Regions from separate parts of the Homo sapiens genome. Here region 2 is linked to region 1. The links are contacts of gene promoters, found by promoter capture Hi-C in human tissues and cell types (Jung and others, 2019). All regions are on one chromosome and are shown on one strand. The core of a region is centred on a gene start or on the middle of the fragment in contact, and the rest is flanking DNA. Distances in the headings are between cores, read along the strand shown. Region 1 holds the start of GPR158 (G protein-coupled receptor 158). Region 2 has its middle 5.1 kb from the start of ARHGAP21.

Region 1 (4,038 bases), core at 582-3,081:
CAGACCGGTGCCCCCAACTGCACACGTAGGAAGCAGGCAGAGGCTACCCCAAAGTGGCAGAAACAAGGAACTCTCTGTTCCTCCTGCTCCCTTTTCGCCTCTCATCTGAGGCTTGCCACTCCGCGGACACACCCGGCGCTCGCCAAGTTGTCGCATCGCCCCCCGGTGGGGAACGCCCCTCCCTGCTCTCCGGACAATTGGAGGGAAGCACAGAGCAGCGGGGGTGTCTCCGTCCTGCCAAGGGCTGCCTGTCCCTCGCCCAGTGCGGGGAAACTGGTCCGAGAGAATGAATGGCTTTCGCCGAGCGCCGGAAGCTGACGGGCGTGGGGCGCTTCTTGCCCCCAAGCACCCGCGCCCGCGTGGGGTGTCCCTCAGCCCGGGTCTCTACTCTGAGGGTGAGAAGCGTTCGCGTCACAGCCAAGGGTTCCTTCCTCACACGTGCACCCACCCACAAGACCGGAAGGAAAGCTTCGCTTTTGCCTTCCCCCCTGCCCCCCGGCCCTCCCTACCTGAATTCCGGGACCAGGTTAGGCTGCAACCCGTAGATGGCAGAGGAAAGAGTAACCAGCCACCCGGGCTTGTAACTCCCGTTCTCGCACTCCAGATAAGGCGGAGACCACTTGAAGTGGCTCTTGTCCCCGCCGAGCCCGTCCTTGCGCCGCCAGCTGTGGCCCAGGCCCCGGGGCCCCTGATTGGGGCCGCGGCGGTGTAAGTGGGGCCTCCACTTGCGCCGGAGGCCGTGGAACCACTCGGTCTCCAGAGTGGCGTTGGCCAGGTGGGGTGCGGAGGAGGACAGGTCTTGGAGCAGGATGCGGCTCTCCTCGCGCGTGGCCTGGAGGAAGACCTGTGGGGCCGGTGCGGACAGCGAATCGGTGCTGAAGGTGATGGCCGCCCGGGAGATGCTGGGCTCGCCCTCCAGAAGGCTCCACACCAGCGCCTGGTACCAATCCAGGTCGTCCTGCAAGTTCTGCTCCCGCGACTTATTGCTCTGCAGCATCACGTTGAGGAAGTTGGTGGCGTGTGTCAGTGTGTCCAGCGCCCGGTGCAAGGAGGGGTGCGCGCTGGCCAGGGCTGGCCACTTCCCCGGCAGGCCCGCCAACTCGTAGCGGCCGGAGCAGTTGGCTCGCTTCAGCTGGTGGGAGTCCCCGGTGTAGAGGTAAGAGGCCACGTCCATGGGCACCTCCTCGGCGAGTTTCTGCGCCAAGATGGTGCCATCGGTGGAGCGGCTCCAGGGAGCCGAGGAGTCCGAGGCAGAGGCTCGACCCGGCTGCTGGGCGTGCGGCTTCCCCTTCGGGGTCCTCTCTCGAGGGGAATCCGGCCGTCCTTGGGGGTCGCGGCTGGCGCCAACAGCTCCCAATCCCAGCTGAGCAAGCAGGAGGCAGAGGAGTAAGGGGTAAGCCATGGCTCCCATCTGCCTCCCAGAGAGAAGAGGAGGGAACGGGAGGGGGGGGAATCACTTTTTAAATTTGGATCGTCAGTTTCTCAACAGTCAGACTTTTTCGAGGAGTCTTCCCCCTTCTCCAGATGGCACCCAGTCCAAAGGACTTGAAAATAAGAATGTTTCGAGATTGGCCCCGGGTGGCTAAGCTACCGTCGCAGAAATCAAGTCACCTGTGGCAGCGCTGGCCGTGCCCGCTGCGCGAGGGGCCGGCTGGGGATTACGCACCTCGCAGCCTGGAGCCGAGCGGGTTACATGGCCTCGCGCTCCCAGCGGCTGGAGTCAGCCCGAGTCCGTCTCTCGGCCCGGCTGCCGCCACCGCCGCTCTCATTGAGGCGCGTTCAGAAGCTGCTGCTGCTGCTGCCGCCGCGGCCGCCGAAGACGCTGCTCCATAGTCTCACCCGCCGCAGGTCGTTCCCGCCTCCCGGCACTGGCTCCTCCTCGACCGCTTCGCCCGGAGGCGCGGGGCGCGCGCCCAGACCCGCACCGCGAGCGCAGCCGCGACTCCCGAGGAGCGAAGACGTCCTTTAAGACGTTCGTCTGTCCGGAGTAGCGAAGGCCGGGCGGCTGGTTAATTGCAGCCTTTAGGTTTGGCCGCAAACCACACTCCACCCTCTCTCCCTGCTCCCTCCTCGGGGGAGGAAAGCCAGTTTAAAGAGGCAGCTTGGCCGCAACCAAACCCTTGTAGGGCGGCTGCAAGTCGTCTTGTTCCCTGTTTGGTCGGCTCCTCTGTCAATCAGCCGACTGCCATTTGTGGGGCCGGGGAGGGAGCTGTCCAGTGCTGAACCCGAGGCGGCCCGCGGGCGGCGGGGGCGCGGGAGGCAGCCTGCCGAGTCCTCGCACCCACTCGCGTTCCGGATGACTCGGAAACCTGCGTGGGTGGCGTAGGGTGGGCGGCAGAGGGGGGAGAAGCAGAGATTCGGTGGCTCAGAGCGAAGGAAACTTGGACGTACTGAGGGGGAGGGTGTTGGCGTCTTGCATGCTTAGTTAAATCAGCCTTTTGCCTGGAAAAGAGGGAGAAGGGAGTAGTTTTCATTTCTAGGTGAAATTAGACAGAAGGGACATAGGATGGAGACGTGTCCTCCTGAGCATCTGCTCATTTTAGGCAAATTATCAAATCATCTTTCTTGTTGTCAGTTAAAGAAATGATTAAAACATACTTGTCTAGGCTCATCTTAGCTGAGGGAGTAATGGAGAAATCTACCAGCTGTGCTTTAAGGAGAGAAAAAAAAGTCATATTTAAGGAATCTCTGCTTGGGGGCCAGAATGGAGGGGAACGTGTAAAAATGTATGCAAGTAAAGATGTGTAAGGGAGAGAGCAAGGGGGAGGACTCATGAGCTCTGGGAGAATGAGAAGGAGCCTGTGTTGAGTGAGAAGGGAAATCATCCTGACTGGGAGTTCCTGGAATTGAGAGATAAGAACTAAGACTTCTATTTAGCTAAAGGTTGGGATATCCCAGCAGAAGAAAGAAGAACTGAGCAAGTATGCCAAGTCCCCCAAATTATTGGTAAATTTCTTAACACAATCTAATTGATGTTTTGACGCTTATTAGAGAATTTAAGTGTCTTCTGACACTCCAAAAGTAGACTGGTACCAGAAAAGTAGTGTTTTGCACAGCTAGCTCCACTTTCCATATGCACCTCTATTTTCAAATTCCCCAAGAAAGACACAAATAGAAAATATCCAACTTACTTTAATTCCCAACTAACAAAAATGTCCCTCATGGCATTCTAAGCAGGCACTGCTTAGATTCACTGTACTATTTCATGTCATCCTTCCTATTGAGAAAATACTTAAGGACTGGAATGTAAGCTCCAAAAGAGCAAAAATCTTTGTCTGCATTGGTCACTGAGGTACCTTGAGCACCCAGAACACTACCTGGCACATAGTAGGCTCTGGCTAAATAGTTGCTAAATTAGTGAATGAATGGGAAGATCATGATGATGAAGCTAACTTAAAAATCAATCTCCTCACCCAAGAAGAGAAGTCTGCCTGACACACCAGTGATGAGGGTTTTTGGAAGAAGACACAGCAACCAGTTTTTCAAACCGCAGTGGTTGGTCTCCAAATGAGTTTTTATAGTTATGCAAAGAGTGGTTATTAGATTTATATTTACTTACAAGTAGATTTCATGTTCATTTCCGACTTTTTGTTTAAATTTTTCTTTGCAATGTATGCTCCTATGCTAAGTAAAGGTCATCCCGGTTTAGTGCTCTGCCACAGTATGGGTGGCAATAATAACAGAAAGAGTTTCTGCTTATTTAATGTATCAAAGTATAAACTATGGTATTCCATTTACTTAACCATCTAAAGTCCGAAGTATAATTTCCTCATTCATTGATCCTTTTAGAAAACCTATATAACTTATTAACAATTCTTTAAAATCCTCTAGTATCTAACTTAAAAGAAGACATAATTGTATTCGTAGATCCTTCTGTAAGTAATCAAATGAACTAAGCACAATCAAAAGACCTGGATTCTGGTTCTAGCTTTATTTTAAAGGAAGATATATGACCACTGGCAAGACATTTAAAATTTCTGTGTCTTGGGACACAAACTGTGTGTGGGCCTCGGGATTTCACATTGAGGTTGTACGGGG
Region 2 (4,038 bases), core at 468-2,967, 450 kb after region 1:
CATCTATCCTACTTAAGCCCAGATGTGAATTACCACATATTGCCCTGCGATCTTTTCCTATCTGAGGGAAGAAGCCTTGGTTAGTTGACTTTTGGATTAATAAGGAATGCAAGCAATTATAGGGATAGAGGAATGGAATCTACAGTGCTAGACAATATTGAAAGATACTCAGAGTTTCTTGAATCAAGGAATAGAGAAGTCTTTAGGTGTCTTTCCTGATTCTGCTCAATGACAATGAAAGGGAAGGCTAGAACTTTTTATTTTTTTTGATGAAAAGATTTGATTACTTTGGATTAGGCCTATGATATTAAAAATCAACTGCTAGCACAGTTTCCTAGTTAAAATGTTTGGAATTTAGCATTCTATTCCAAAATGATAAAAACATATTTCAATTCTCCAGTTGTAATATGGGTTTCTCCAGATTGCACTGTATTTTCACAATGTTCCAACTCATATTTAGTTGGGTGGGTGGAAACATTTTAAAAACTAGTCTCATATTTTTAAGGAAAGTTGGAATACTTATAAATGAAAGTCACGATTCTTAGGATAAAATAAAAACTTGCACATGGATTTTTTATTCATATTTTTTCTTAAAACATATAAATAAACTTAACAATGTTGATGACTATGACTAGCATACCACTAAATTTTAATTATGGAAATTCTAATGCTGAATAATAATTTGGATCTAAAGAAAACTTTTGATATATGATTATGGATAAGCTTTGGGGTGAAATTTTATAGTTTCTACCAAAATGTAAGTGATATTAATTTTTAGGATGGTCTTATGGCTGAAAAACAGCTAAATCGCTGGCAGTGAAGTTTATTTATTTATTTATTTGAGATGGAGTGTCACTCTGTCAACCAGGCTTGGCCCTGCCTCCCAGGTTCAAGCAATTCTCCTGTCTCAGCCTCCTGAGTAAGCTGGGATTACAGGACCGTGCCACCATGCCCAGCTAATTTTTGTAGTTTTAGTAGAGATGGGGTTTTACCATGTTGTCCAGGCTGGTCTCGAATGTCTGACCTCAAGTGATCCACCCACTCGGGCCTCCCAAAGTACTGGGATTACAGGTGTGAGCCACAGCGCCTGGCCAGAGAAGTTTCGATAAGGAGATAAAATGTGGCATTTCCGAAAGTTGAGGCCCATACCAAGTGTTCTCTTTGTGGATACCTCTTATAATTTACACTCTTTGTTTTAGGCATATTCACATAGGCCTATACATATATCTTCCTGTGACCTGTACTGTTATTGGACCTGTACAGCCAGGAATTTCTTGAGGTATAAATATTTATCAATAATAGTGACATAACCATCTTTTATTTCTTGAATAATTCTGTAGTAATTTCTATGTGTAAAAGATGTGGTAGATATTGTGGGGATGTGAAAGTAGTAAAAGCTCCAGGAATCTCCTCTAGAGAAGTTTATAATCCAGATTAAAAAAGGAGATAATATTTAGCTAAATAAGATTTATTATTTTTTTCCCACAATATATCCGTGTAACAAAAGAAGATTGTTTATAATCAAGTAACAGCAACAAACAAACAAACAAACAAACCCAAAAATAAACACCAGTATTCTAGTCCAGAGGAGGAAAAGATGACAATAAACTGAGGGCAGATAAATTATTCAAGAATATTTATTGTGTGTGGCACTTTACTAGGCATTGTATATAATGAATTAAATAATGTCATTGCCTTCTAGAAATTAATCATCAAAGATAGTAATCATGTGGAGAGAAATAATAAGATACATATTTAGCAAATGCAGAACAATAAATTAGTAAATCATTTACATTATTTGTTTAAAAGAGATGAAGGAAGAGTCCTAGAAATTGCTGATTGTGGAGAATCATTCCCTTCTCTCAATTACAATAGTTAAATGCCTTGCAAGTGTGGTGGGATTTCTGTAGCTATTCAGTTCAACATGAAAATCTTTTGCTTTTTTTGTCCAGGCATGGTGGCTCACGCCTGTAATCCCAGCACTTTGGGAGGGCGGGGTGGGTGGATCACCTGAGGTCAGGAGTTCGAGACCAGCCTGGCCAACATGGTAAAATTCTGTCTCTACTAAAAAATACAAAAATTAGCTGGGTGTGGTGGTGCATGCCTGTCGTCCCAGCTACTGGGGAGGCTAAGGCACGAGAATCCCTTGAACCCAGGAGGCAGAGGTTGCAGTGAGCCAAGATCACACCACTGCACTCCAGCCTGGATGACAAAGTGAGACTCCGTCTCAAAAAAAAAAAAAAAGTCTTTTGCTCTTTCAAAGTAATATTAGCATGTAATGTGTCTTTTTGGTAATGTGTGAATAAGAAATAAACAAAACAAAACCCCTTACTCTTCTGAGGGCTATTGGTCTTAACGTAGTTTTGCAAAGGCTTCAACCCAAATTGCAAATTTCATTTGTGGATTCACTAGCAAACACTTGTGCTTCTCAGATGTGCCAGCTTCTGTTAACATATTCAGAGTAGAAATCATTCATAGATTATCATAGAATGGCCTTCCACACCAGGGGCTGGGATACTTTGCCTCTATTTTTGGCTTTGACATTTTTTCCCTTGATATTGGTTCACCAAAACAATATTATGTCATTAGCAAAGCCAACACTTACCTTTTAAGGATACAGTTCTCATCTTCATAAATGTCTTGCCTAGATTTAGTGTATAAAGCTTTCTTGTAGTTTTTATTAATATAGCTATAGTAATTTCAGAGGCTATTTCAAAGGATACTCCAAGAAGTTTGATTATAGGAAACCCACACATTTATTAGCTATACTCTAAGGAGGAAAATAGCCTTTCAAAGCAAACAAAGCTAGAATTACTGTTAGCTCTTGCTTATCCATGATATTTGAGGATAAAGAAAACTATCAAGATAGCAACCAGTTAGTTTCAATCTCCTTTCAGTTACAATGGCCCCAAAACCTATTGTTTCACCAAATCTCTCACTGAAACTAACACGTAGCCGCGTGACTGAAGTTTGGCCCCCTTTCCTTTCCCTTGCCCTCCCTCTGGTGGAGGTGTTTACAAGTGAGATGTCCACGATGGGCAGCTAAAGAGAATTCCAAGGGCTTGCACCCTCCACCAATTACGCCAATTAGCCTTTGGAATGGAGAAAAACCAGCTGCAGGCTTCCTCTTTCCAGATGCGTGGGGGGCCACACTCACTTTTTGGTCTGGTCAGAAGGCATCCAAATGATGACCAAGCGCGGTGGCTCACGCCTGTAAACCCTGAACTTTGGGAGGCTGAGGCATCATTTGTTCAAGACCAGTCTGGGTAACGTGGTGAAACCCTGTCTCTACGGGGTGGGGGCGGGGAAGAAAGAAAAATTACCCGGGTGTGGTGGCATGTGCCTGTAGTTCCAGCTACTCAGGAAGCTGAGACACCAGAATCCCTTGAGCCCAGGAGGCAGAGGTTGCAGTCAGCCGAGACTGTGCCATTGCACTCCAGCCTGGTGACAGAGTGGACCTCATCTCAAAAACAAAAACGAACAAAACAAACAAACACAAAAAAGCATCCAAATGAGAGCTGATATTAAAATATTCTTGTTCATGGCTTCAGAAAGGAATAGACCTAATTTTTAACTGGGTTCATATATTCCTAAACAGTATCAATAAAATGTTATAAACAGTAGGGTTCCTGTTGGGGAAATAGTACAAACTTCTGCTTTATAGTAATATTTTATTTTTTGAGATGGAGTCTCGCTCTGTCACCCAGGCTGGAGTGCAGTGGCGCAATCTCGGCTCACTCCAACCTCTTCCTCCCGGGCTCAAGGGATTCTCATGCCTCAGCCTCTCAAGCAGCTGGGATTACAGGCACGTGCCACCACGCCAGGCTAATTTTTGTATTTTCAGTAGAGAAGGGGTTTCACCATGTTGCCCAGGTTAGTCTTGAACTCCCGGCCTTAAGTGATCCGCCCGCCTTGGCCTCCCAAAGTGCTGGGATTACAGACATGAGCCATCATGCCCAGCCCATAATATTTTGATTGAAATAATGTTTTTTACGTTTTAAAAGTGTCTTCTGTTGCCCAGGCTGGAGTGCGCTGGTG

Evidence for each region. Contacts are between HindIII fragments. The study calls those that stand out against the background at their distance.
Region 2: a fragment that was not itself captured here is called in contact with the fragment with the promoter of GPR158 in region 1 in 1 of the 25 tissues and cell types used here (dorsolateral prefrontal cortex).

Annotation. Positions count from the first base shown.
Region 1 is chr10:25,172,794-25,176,831 of GRCh38, reverse strand. GPR158 (G protein-coupled receptor 158) reads right to left here and starts at 1,831. Exons shown (of 11, transcript NM_020752.3): 1 at 510-1,831. The coding sequence starts at 1,411. GPR158-AS1 (GPR158 antisense RNA 1) reads left to right here and starts at 556. Exons shown (of 2, transcript NR_027333.2): 1 at 556-1,156. The HindIII fragment of the contact is 11,687 bases long and covers 1-4,038 here.
Region 2 is chr10:24,727,017-24,731,054 of GRCh38, reverse strand. No RefSeq gene overlaps it. Among named protein-coding and RNA genes, the nearest start is that of ARHGAP21, 5.1 kb to the right of the region's middle. The HindIII fragment of the contact is 4,272 bases long and covers 1-3,853 here.